Regions from separate parts of the Homo sapiens genome. Here region 2 is linked to region 1. Evidence: promoter capture Hi-C in 16 types of primary human blood cells and fetal thymus (Javierre and others, 2016). All regions are on one chromosome and are shown on one strand. The core of a region is centred on a gene start or on the middle of the fragment in contact, and the rest is flanking DNA. Distances in the headings are between cores, read along the strand shown. Region 1 holds the start of LUARIS (lncRNA upregulator of antiviral response interferon signaling). Region 2 overlaps COA1 (cytochrome c oxidase assembly factor 1).

Region 1 (5,261 bases), core at 2,128-4,627:
AGTAGGGACAGCCAGTGTAGCCTTTGTTTTCTATTCATCATCTGAAAGTAGGAAGCCTCCCCTCTCCTCTGTACCCCTAAAGGTCCCAAGGCTGATCTGCTCTCAGCCTAGGCTGGAGGATCCATTTCCTGGATTACATCACACACTTCCCTAGAGGTCTATAGTGATTCCCATTTATCGTTCACAATGATATTCCTGATCATTAGTTTTATACATCTCCACCAACATCCCCCTTCTCCGATCCTGAGATCACTGAGCTACCTTGGTTCTGTTCTCAATTTGATTAGGATTGTACCTCTGTCCCTGGTCCACCTCTGCTAATGCCATTTGCAGTACTTTTTTCAGCTGCGCTATTTTTAATTGAGAATAACTGATGCTAGGTGGTTTACAATGGGCCCACCCCTCCTGTCATTCCAGTTTCTGTTGTTGTCAAACTCTTTACCCTCCACCCCGCTGAATGTATCCCTCCTCTCATGAAACTGGGCTGAACAGAAAGACGTCTTTATACTTTCATATAATTTGCTTTTTAAACCTCTCCCAACAGACAAAAAGACTTTTGAATGCAATATATTGATTCTGTCCATTCTATTTAGCATTTAAATATTCAGGAAATGAACTGATTTCATGGAAATTACATTTTCAGTAATTTAAATAATAGTTCCAATTTTGTTAATTTTCATACTTAGAGTCAAGCCTAAAAATTTCTCAGCCATGATGCTGACCACATATTCCGACCGATTATTGGGCTTGATATTGTTACTAGAGTGCTTTACTTTCCTTTGTCCTTGAAGCAAATTTCTAAGGTAGGCAGCATCGATGTTCATTTGTGTAATCATGCCATAATACATTCATAAAAAAGAGTTTTGAATCAACAAATAAAGCATAATTTTTAATCCCTATTTTATATTAGGATGCTGAAATAAGATAATGTAAAGAGTCTGCTCAAGTTAATTAACGCTGATTCTCGTGAAAACCTCCTCAGTTTAAATCCTGATATACCAGGGAAATTTGGAGACTTGTAAATAGCATTTCATGCCCCTCTACAGGACACAGGAGCTCCTTCCACCTCCCACTAATGCTTGCTTACATAATTTTGCAGTAACTTCTTTTCCAAATATTACAAGCACACGGGAGAGCTAGAGGTGAAACAATAGCCCCAAACCTGGGTCTCCACAGTCTCTAGTAGGAACTTGTGAAAAAAGAATTCTTTCAATTTTAGCTCTGCATGGGCATGTCAAAGCCTCTCCACTCCTCTCTTCCCATCTACAAATAAGGGATAATAATGTTAGTATTTGCTTACTTACCTCACAGGAGAATGAAAAGAAAGAGTAATTTAATGTTAATAGGTTCTTTGAAGATGAAAAGTACTTCATAATTGCTAAGTTCTATTACATTTTTAAAAACCCATCTCAAAGATACCCCTCTTTCCTTATCCTTCTAACTTTGTTTAATTAAAAATAATTATCCTTTCTCAACCTCATTATTTAAGTAATAAGACTTCATGACGTTCCCACACAATGTATGTTTCCATGCTTTACTCAGTGTTACTGCCTTCAGGTTTGGTCTTCTCATATTTTCTAACTTCTTATATATTAGAAAATCTAGTGAAAACCTGTTGTGTCTGCCTGGGGTAGATTTCATTTCAGAGTGTGAAAACTGCATGAACAGCCAGCTTTTTTTCTCACACTCTTTGAAAGACTCTTGACGCTGCTAACATCTAAGGCAAAATTTCTCAAAGGTGGTGGTGACCCTTCCATTGGTATCTGAATCCCTGGGGTGTTTGTTAAGATCTAGGTACCTGGAGATCAGACTCTATGGGGTGGGTTATGGAAATCTGCATTTAAAATAAATTCTGCAGTTGCCGACTAAAATTTGAGAACCACCCATTCCAAGTCCCTCATCTTTTTTTTTAAGATGAAAAACATAGTCTGAAGGTCAAAAGTGAAGTTTTTTGCCTTAGGCATCACTCATTGCATTTCCTCATGGATACTGGAAGAAGGGATGGAGGACAGAGGCTTTTCTAGAAGCTGAGAGTATGAATGGCTCCACTTGGCCTCCTCTCACACCACCGCCTGCAGGCACATGCATCCTTGCCTCCTTACACCCCACTAATTGGGGGGGTCTTCTTTTTATCTAATCCCCCTCATATCACCAGCCTCTCCCTCCCTCTGGTTCTTGCTTTCGGCGCCTCTCTCATTAGTAAGTACATCTGCAATCTACACTTGCCATTTATTTCCCTCGATCTCAAGGAAAAAGGGGCTGACTCTTTTCTTTTTTTCGAGATGGCGTTTCCCTCTTGTTGCTCAGGCTGGAGTGCAATGGCGAGATCTCTGCTCACTGCAACCTCCACCTCCCGGGTTCAAGCAATTCTCCTGCTGGGGCTGACTCTCTTTCAAAGCTAATGTCTTCACTTGGGCTATCTATTGTCTTTCCCTGCCTCCTCTGGGCTCTTCTTCCATCCACTTTTTGCTCTCTCTTATAATTCAAGATTTCTCTCTCTTCTGACATTGTCTCCTCAAAGGCCTTGCATCCTTCTAGCGGCCCCACAAAGCCAAGCTCCTAGAAAGAGCAGTTTTCAGGGCTGTTTGATGCTGGTGTTTAAAAATACGAGCAAGGCCAGGCATGGCGGCTCATGACTATAATCCCAGCACTTTGGGAGGCCGAGGCAGGTGAATCAACTGAGGTCAGGAGTTCGAGACCCCCCCCGGCCAACATGGAGAAACCCCTTATGTACTAAAAACACAAAAATTAGCCGGGCCTGGTGGCACACACCTGTAATCCCAGCTACTTGAGAGGCTGAGGCAGGAGAATTGCTTGAACCTGGGAGGAGGAGGTTGCAGTGAGCCAAGATCGCACCATTGCACTCTAGCCTGGGGGACAAGAGCGAAATTCCATCTCAAAACAAACAAACAAACAAACAAGCAGAACTACCTTTGGAAAGAGAACACACAGTACAAAGAGTAGGCGGAAGTGCCAGCAATAACATCCCCACCACGGAGCTGTTTTTGGAATAAATATTAGGGAAGCAGAGTTTTGATTCTCTGCAGCTCCCTGTCCTCCTGGCACAATCAAATTTCCCTGCTCCTGGCTTTTATACCAAGGCCAGCATTGCTGTCATTCCCTGTGCTCCGTGCACATTCTTGTGGGCTGAGTTCAGGGTTTGGCCACAGGCTAGTCTCCTGTCTCCACAGCTAATAGGGGGTTTGGTGTAGGCCCTGGCATCCCCACCAGTGGTTTGCTTTGTAATTTTTCCCTCTTGGCCTGTGGGAGGACTGAGGCATGGTGTCTAGAACTCCTGCGCAGCTGCAGGCCTGCTTGGAGGGTGAGGTGGCTGTTGTGGGGCAGGTGAGAGCACGCCAGGGCCATAGCTAACCTCCAGCCTTCATGAAGAGCCCATGGCAACTCTGTGGGAATCCTTCCAGCAGCCCGCTTATGGCTGGAGACAGAGGTGTGGCTTCTATCTAAGCTTTTCCCTCTGACTCAGTCCAGGAGGCAACTGTCTTGGGAAGCAAATGATAACAGCATCTGGGAGATTCTCTTCTGGATGGACTAGCAGGGAATCAGGACATGAACTCAGTGGACTAACTGCACCGAGACTCACCTGGTCATTACTTGAAGGTCATTACTTAAAGTAAGTTCTTCAGTTGCCAACATTTGAAAACTAAAGTGTGTGGTTCAGTTATGCTGGTCCAATAATCAGAGAAGTCTAATATGTGAGTGTCTTAGTTCATTCCTGTGGCTATAACAAAATACCATGGCTTGAGTAATTTATAAATAATAGAAATTTATTTCTCACAGCTCTGAAGGCTGAGAAATCCAAGATCAAGGTGCCAAAAGATTCAGGGTCTGGTAAGGCCTTGTTCTCTGCTTCTAAGATGGACACCTTGCGGTATCCTCAAATGGCAGAATGGGAAGAGCAAAAGGGACTAGGCCACTCCCTTCAACCTCTTTTATAGGGGGACTGATCCCATTCACAAAGGTGGAGCCCTCATGACTTAATCACTTTCCCAAACGCCTCACTTCTTTTTCTGTTGTTGTTTATTTTTGAGATGGAGTTTTGCTTTTGTTGCTCAGGCTGGAGTGCAATGCAATTAGGCTCACTGCAACCTCTGCCTCCCAGGTTCAAGCGATTCTCCTGCCTTAGCCTTCCTGAGTAGCTGGGATTACAGACATGTGCCACCACGCCTGGCTAATTTTTGTATTTTTAGTAGAGATGGGGTTTCACCATGTTGTCAGACTGGTCTTGAACTCCTGACTTCAGGTGATCCACCCGCCTTGGCCTCCCAAAGTGCTGGGATTACAGGCATGACTTTCCTTGCCCAGCCAAGGTCTGACTTCTTAATACCATCACCTTGGGGGTTAAGTTTCAACCTATGAATTTTGGAAAAACACATATATTCAACCCGCAGCCATGACGTATTCCAAGGCTGAAAATGTTTTCCTAAAACTCTAGGCCTACAGAAATACTTTTAATCCTGCAAAAATTTTGCTTAACCTTTTCTTTTTCCAGTCTTCCATCATGAAAACAGTGATTCTCAACAGAGTGATTTTGCCTCCTAGGAGAATTGTGGCAATGTCTGGAAACATTTTTGGTTGTGACAGCTGGGGGTGATCGTGGTGGTGCTACTGTACCTAGTGGGCAAACTCACTCTCTCAAGGCCTTTTATAAGGGCCTTACTCCCATTCATGACTCTGCCCTCATCGTTTAATCACTTCTTAAAGGCCCCACCTCTTAATATCATCACGTTGGTGATTAAGTTTCAACATATGAATTCTGAGAGACGCATCCGTCAAACCACATCAGGCACTCTTATGTCCTTTTGGTGAACTAGGAGGCTGAGACTCAGATAGGTTAAGAAAGCTGCCCAGGTTCTACTGAGAGTTGGAGCAGGCATGAAACCTGGGTTTGCCTTTTGCTGTGTGGCACCTGCCTCAGGACCTGAAGGGTGCTGCCTCCATGCCAGAAACCACGCTGGCTGCAGAGGGCAAACCTGAACAATAAGATGTTGCCCTGATCCAGTTTAAAAGCTAACACAAAGTGGCCAGGGAGGGATGGAAGGAGAGACGCAGACAGTAGATTAGAGCAGTGCTTTCTCAAGCTATTTTGCACAGAAGCATAGAGATGGGGAGGAGGAAGAGCCTGAGGGGCTCAGTGAACCAGGCACCCCTCCTTGCCAGAGGCAAGGCTTCACTTTCGTCTGTTCTAGATTGGAGAACAAGGTTCCAGCTAAAAGGGTTTGGAAACCTTTGTGTTTTTTTTA
Region 2 (5,030 bases), core at 264-2,763, 190 kb before region 1:
GGTTCTTAGAGCTCCACTGATGTCAAGTGGAAAGCAAGAGCAGGACATGCTGACACCGACTAAAACCTTAAGTTGTACATCTCTGGGAGCTGAGACAAGAGCATCTAGGAGATAAGCTTGTGATCTAGACAGCCAGTCTCATAGCTGTTGCCATCTTATAAATAAATGTGTTTTTATACTCTATCTGCTGCTAACAGTTATTCTTACAAATAAATAATAATACATTTGTATGCATAGTCCACTTCATATAAACGCTATTAGTGGTGTTTCAAGAAATAAAAAATTTGAAAGCAAAATAAGTCCTAAAGTTGGCAGTACAATATATTATTCTGTATGGTAGTATATTAGTCCGTTTTCACACTGCTGATAAAGACATACCTGAGACTGGGCAATTTACAAAAGAAAGAGGTTTAACTGGACTTACTGTCTCATGTGGCTGGGGAATCCTCACAGTCATGGTGGAAGGCAAAGAGGAGCAAGTCCTGTCTTACATAGATGGCAGCAGGCAAAGAGAGAATGAGAAAGATGCAAAGTGGAAACCCTTGATAAAACCATCAGATCTTGTGAGACTTATTCACTACCACAAGAAAAGTATGGGGGAAACCGCCCCCATGATTCAGTTATCTCCCATTGGGTCCCTCCCACAACACATGGGAATTATAGGAGTACAATTCAAGATGAGATTTGAATAGGGACATAGAGCCAAACCATATTGTTCCCCCCCCGGCCCCTGCCAAATCTCATGTCCTCACATTTCAAAACCAATCATGCCTTCCCGACAGTCCCCCAAAATCTTAACTCATTTCAGCATTAACCCAAAAGTTCACAGTTCAAAGTTTCATCTGAGACAAGGCAAGTCCCTTCTGCCTATAAGCCCGTAAAATCAAATGCAACCTAATTACTCCCTAGATAGAATGGGTTTACAGGTATTGGGTAAATATAGTCATTCCAAATAGGAGAAATTGGCCAAAACAAAGGGGTTTCAGGGCCCATGCAAGTCTGAAATCCAGCGGGGCAGTCAAATTTTAAAGCTCCAAAATGATCTCCTTTGACTCCAGGTCTCACATCTGGGTCATGCTGTTGGAGCTGCCTATGGTCTTGGGTAGCTCCACCCCTGTGGCTTTGCAGGGCATAGCCTCCCTCCAGGCTGCTTTCATAGGCTGGCATTGAGTGTCTGTGACTTTTCCAGGTGGATGGTGCAAGCTGTCAGTGGATCTACCATTCTGGGGTCTGGAGGATGGTGGCCCTCTTCTCACAGCTTCACTAGGTAGTGCCCCAGTAGGGACTCTGTGTGGGGGCTCCAACCCCACATTTTCCTTCTGCACTGCCCTAGCAGAGGTTCTCCATGAGGGCCCCACCCCGCAGCAGACTTTTGCCTGGGCTTCCATACATTTCCATACATCTTCTGAAATCTAGGTGGAGGTTCCCAAACCTCAGTTCTTAGCTTCTGTGTGCCTGTAGACTCACCACCATGTGGAAGCTGCCAAGGTTGAGGCTTCCACTCTCTGAAGCCACAACCCAAGCTCTGCATTGGCCCCTTTCAGCCACAGCTGGAGTAGCTGGGACACAGGGCACCAAGTTCCTAGGCTGCACACAGCATGGGGACCTTGGGCCTGGACCACAAAACCACTTTTTCCTCCTGGGCCTCTCGTCCTGTGATGGGAGGGGCTGCCGTGAAAGTCTCTGACATGGCCTGGATACATTTTCCCCATGGTCTTGGTGATTAACATTGGGCTCCCTGCTACTTTTGCAAATTTCTGCAGCCAGCTTGAATTTCTCCTCATAAAATGGGCTTTTCTTTCCTATCACATTGTCAGGCTGTAAATTTTCTGAACTTTTATGCCCTGTTTCCCTTTTAAAATGGAATGCTTTTAACAGCACCCAAGTTACCTTTTGAATGCTTTGCTGCTTAGAAATTTCTTCTGCTAGATACCCTAAAAATCATCTCTCTCAAGTTCTAAGTTCCACAAATCTCTAGGGTGGGGCAAAATGCTGCCAGTCTCTTGCTAAAACATAACAGGAGTCACCTTTGCTCCAGTTCCCAACAAGTTCCTCATCTCCATCTGAGACCACCTCAGCTTGGAACCTTACTCTTCATATCACTATCAGCATTTTTGTCAAATCCATTCAACAAGTCTCTAGGAAGTTCCAAACCTTCCCACATTTTCGTGTCTTCTTTTGAGCCCTCCAAACTGTTCCAACCTCTGCTTGTTACTCACTTCCAAAGTCACTTCCACATTTTTGGGTATCTTCAACAACACCCCACTGCTGGTACCAATTTACTTTATTAGTCCGTTTTCATGCTGTTGATAAAGACATACCTGAGACTGGGCAATTTACAAAAGAAAGAGGTTTAATTGGACTTACAGTTCCATGTGGCTGGGGAAGCCTCACAATCATGGCAGAAGGCAAGGAGGAGCAAGTCCTATCTTACATGGATGGCAGCAGGCAAAGAGAGAATGAGGAGGATGCAAAAGCGGAAACCCCTGATAAAACCATCAGATCTCTTGAGGCTATTCACTATCGGAAAACTGCCCCCATGATTCGATTATCTCCCACTGGGTCCCTCCCACAACACGTGGGAATTATGGGAGTACGATTCAGGATGAGATTTGAGTGGGGACACAGAGCCAAGTCATATCAGGTAGTGTTATTCTTGCTATATTGTGTCTCTAAATACTACCCGTGTTTGTTGGTGTTTTTGAGTTTAAATATTCACTATAGACTGTCATCCTTTGTAAATACTTTAGGAGAGGAATTACAAGAGAAAAAGATATAGTGTTTTTGTGGGATACTTCAACATGAAATGAGAACTTGATCTAAAATTAGTGAAAGCAATATTCAAAGGCAAAACAAAAATGAGAGGAGGCAGCCAAAATAGTTAATCATTAAGAAGGTAAACAAGCTTATATGAAGCAACATACTCTTTTTTTTTTTTTTTGAGATAGAGTCTTGCTCTGTTGCCCAGGCTGGAGTGCAGTGGCACGATCTCCGCTCACTGCAACGTCTGCCTCCCGGGTTCACGCCATTCTCCTGCCTCAGCCTTCCGAGTAGCTGGGACTACAGGTGCTTGCCACCACGCCTGGCATTTTTTTTTGTATTTTTAGTAGAGACGGAGTTTCACCAAGCAACATACCCTTAACATTCAATTTAAAGATGCTGTTTGATGCACTCAGATTAATTTGATCAATGTCAATGTTAAATGTATGAATTTTTTCCTGTATCAGGAATATTATGAAACAAAGTTCAAGACTATTGGAAAAGGCAAGTAATACTTGGTGTGTTTCAAGCTTTCATATTAAGAATGATAACTTCTAAATACAGTATTATCTTTCAGTTTTTAGAATGATTTTTATTTGGCATTTATTTTTGTATTAAATGTTTCCTTTTTTTTTTTTTTTTTTTTTTTTTTAGACAAGAGGCTCACTCTTTTGCCCAGGCTGGAGTGCAGTGGTGCAGTCTTGGCTTACTGCAACTGCTACCTCCCGGGCTCAAGTGATCTTGTGCCTCAGCCACCTGAGTAGCTGGGATTATAGGTGTGCACCACCATGTCCAGCTAAATTTTTTGTAGTTTTAGTAGACGAGATTTCACCATGTTGGCCAGGCTGGTCTCGAACTCCTGGCTGCAAGTGATCCATCTGCATTGGTTTCCCAAAGTGCTGGGATTACAGATGTGAGCCACTGTGCCCACCCTATTGTTTCTTTTTTAATTTCTTCTAGTATCCCGTGTCTGTGTCAGATACAAATCATTTTTATACATTTTCTCAATATATAATTTTTTTTTTTTTTGAGATGGAGTTTCGCTCTTGTAGCCCAGGCTGGAGTGCAATGGCACTATCTCAGCTCACTGCAACCTCTGCCTCCCGGGTTCAAGCAATTCTCCTGCCTCAGCCTCCCGAGTAGCTGGGATTACAGGCTTGCACCACCATACCCGGCTAATTTTTGTATTTCTTAGTAGAGATGGGGTTTCACCATGTTGGCCAGGCTAGCGTTGAACTCCTGACCTCAGGCAATCCACCCTCCTCGGCCTCCCAAAGTGCTGGGATTACAGGTATGAGCCACCACACCCAGCCTCAATATATAATTTTTATACTGTATTGGTTCATACTAGTAATAAGCCATAGGTTTATAATTGTATCTTTATTTTTTAAACAGAAAATCTTTTAAAGTTTTAGTATAACTCTATTACAAAAAGATGATTCACTATTTATTTTTATTTTTAATTTTTTTAGAGACATGGTTTTGCTCTGTCACCCAGGCTGGAGTGCAGTGGCATGATCCTACCTCATTGCAACCTGGAAGTCCCGGACTCAAGTGATCCTCCCTCCTGAGTAGCTGGGACTATTGGTGCATACCACCGTGCCTGGCTAATTTTTTTTTCCTGCCATCTGTGTTTTAATATATTTTTTAAACAGAGTGCAGTGGTGTGATCTCGGCTCACTGCAACCTTTGTCTCTTTGGTTCAAGGAATTCTGCCTCAGCCTCTTGAGTAGCTGGGATTATGGGTGTGCGCCACCATGCCTGGCTAATTTTTGTATTTTTAGTAGAGACAGGCTTTCACCATGTTGGTCAGGCTGGTCTCGAACTCCTGATGTCAAATGATCTGCCCACCTTGGCCTCCCAAAGTGCTGGAATTACAGGCCTGAGCCAGTGCACCTAGCTCTAGACCCCCAGTCTTAATCATAAGCAAATACCCAAGGATTACCAGTTATTTGAGGAAAGCATCCAGCATCAAAGGTGGGTGGTGGGAATTAAGCAAAACAAAAAAGCAACTTGGAAGAAATACAGACTTTGCAGGGGAAAAAAACAGTTACCAACAATCTCCTACCCCAATTACAGATATATTCAGAGAGATGAGATGAAGATGAATAAAAACAGGATGCTCTATAAAGGACTAGCCATAAAACTTACCAGAGACTTGGGCAGGGAGAGGGGAAGGTAGGTAGGGAGAGGTCGTTCAAATGAGTACAAAGTTATAGTTAGGAGGAATAAGTTCTGGTATTCTATTCCACAGAAGGGTGATTATGGTT

What was found. The method cuts DNA at HindIII sites, captures the fragments that hold promoters and counts their contacts. A CHiCAGO score of 5 or more calls a contact.
Region 2: a fragment that was not itself captured here is called in contact with the fragment with the promoter of LUARIS in region 1 in 4 of 17 cell types (non-activated CD4 T cells, activated CD4 T cells, total CD8 T cells and 1 more); the score reaches 5.7 in non-activated CD4 T cells.

Annotation. Positions count from the first base shown.
Region 1 is chr7:43,520,658-43,525,918 of GRCh38, reverse strand. It overlaps LUARIS (lncRNA upregulator of antiviral response interferon signaling), which reads left to right and starts at 3,377. Exons shown (of 3, transcript NR_038276.1): 1 at 3,377-3,631. The region is part of intron 24 of HECW1 (HECT, C2 and WW domain containing E3 ubiquitin protein ligase 1); the gene reads right to left. The HindIII fragment of the contact is 11,394 bases long and covers 1-3,468 here.
Region 2 is chr7:43,713,389-43,718,418 of GRCh38, reverse strand. All of the region lies in intron 1 of COA1 (cytochrome c oxidase assembly factor 1), which reads left to right. Among named protein-coding and RNA genes, the nearest start is that of COA1, 14 kb to the left of the region's middle. The HindIII fragment of the contact is 2,789 bases long and covers 119-2,907 here.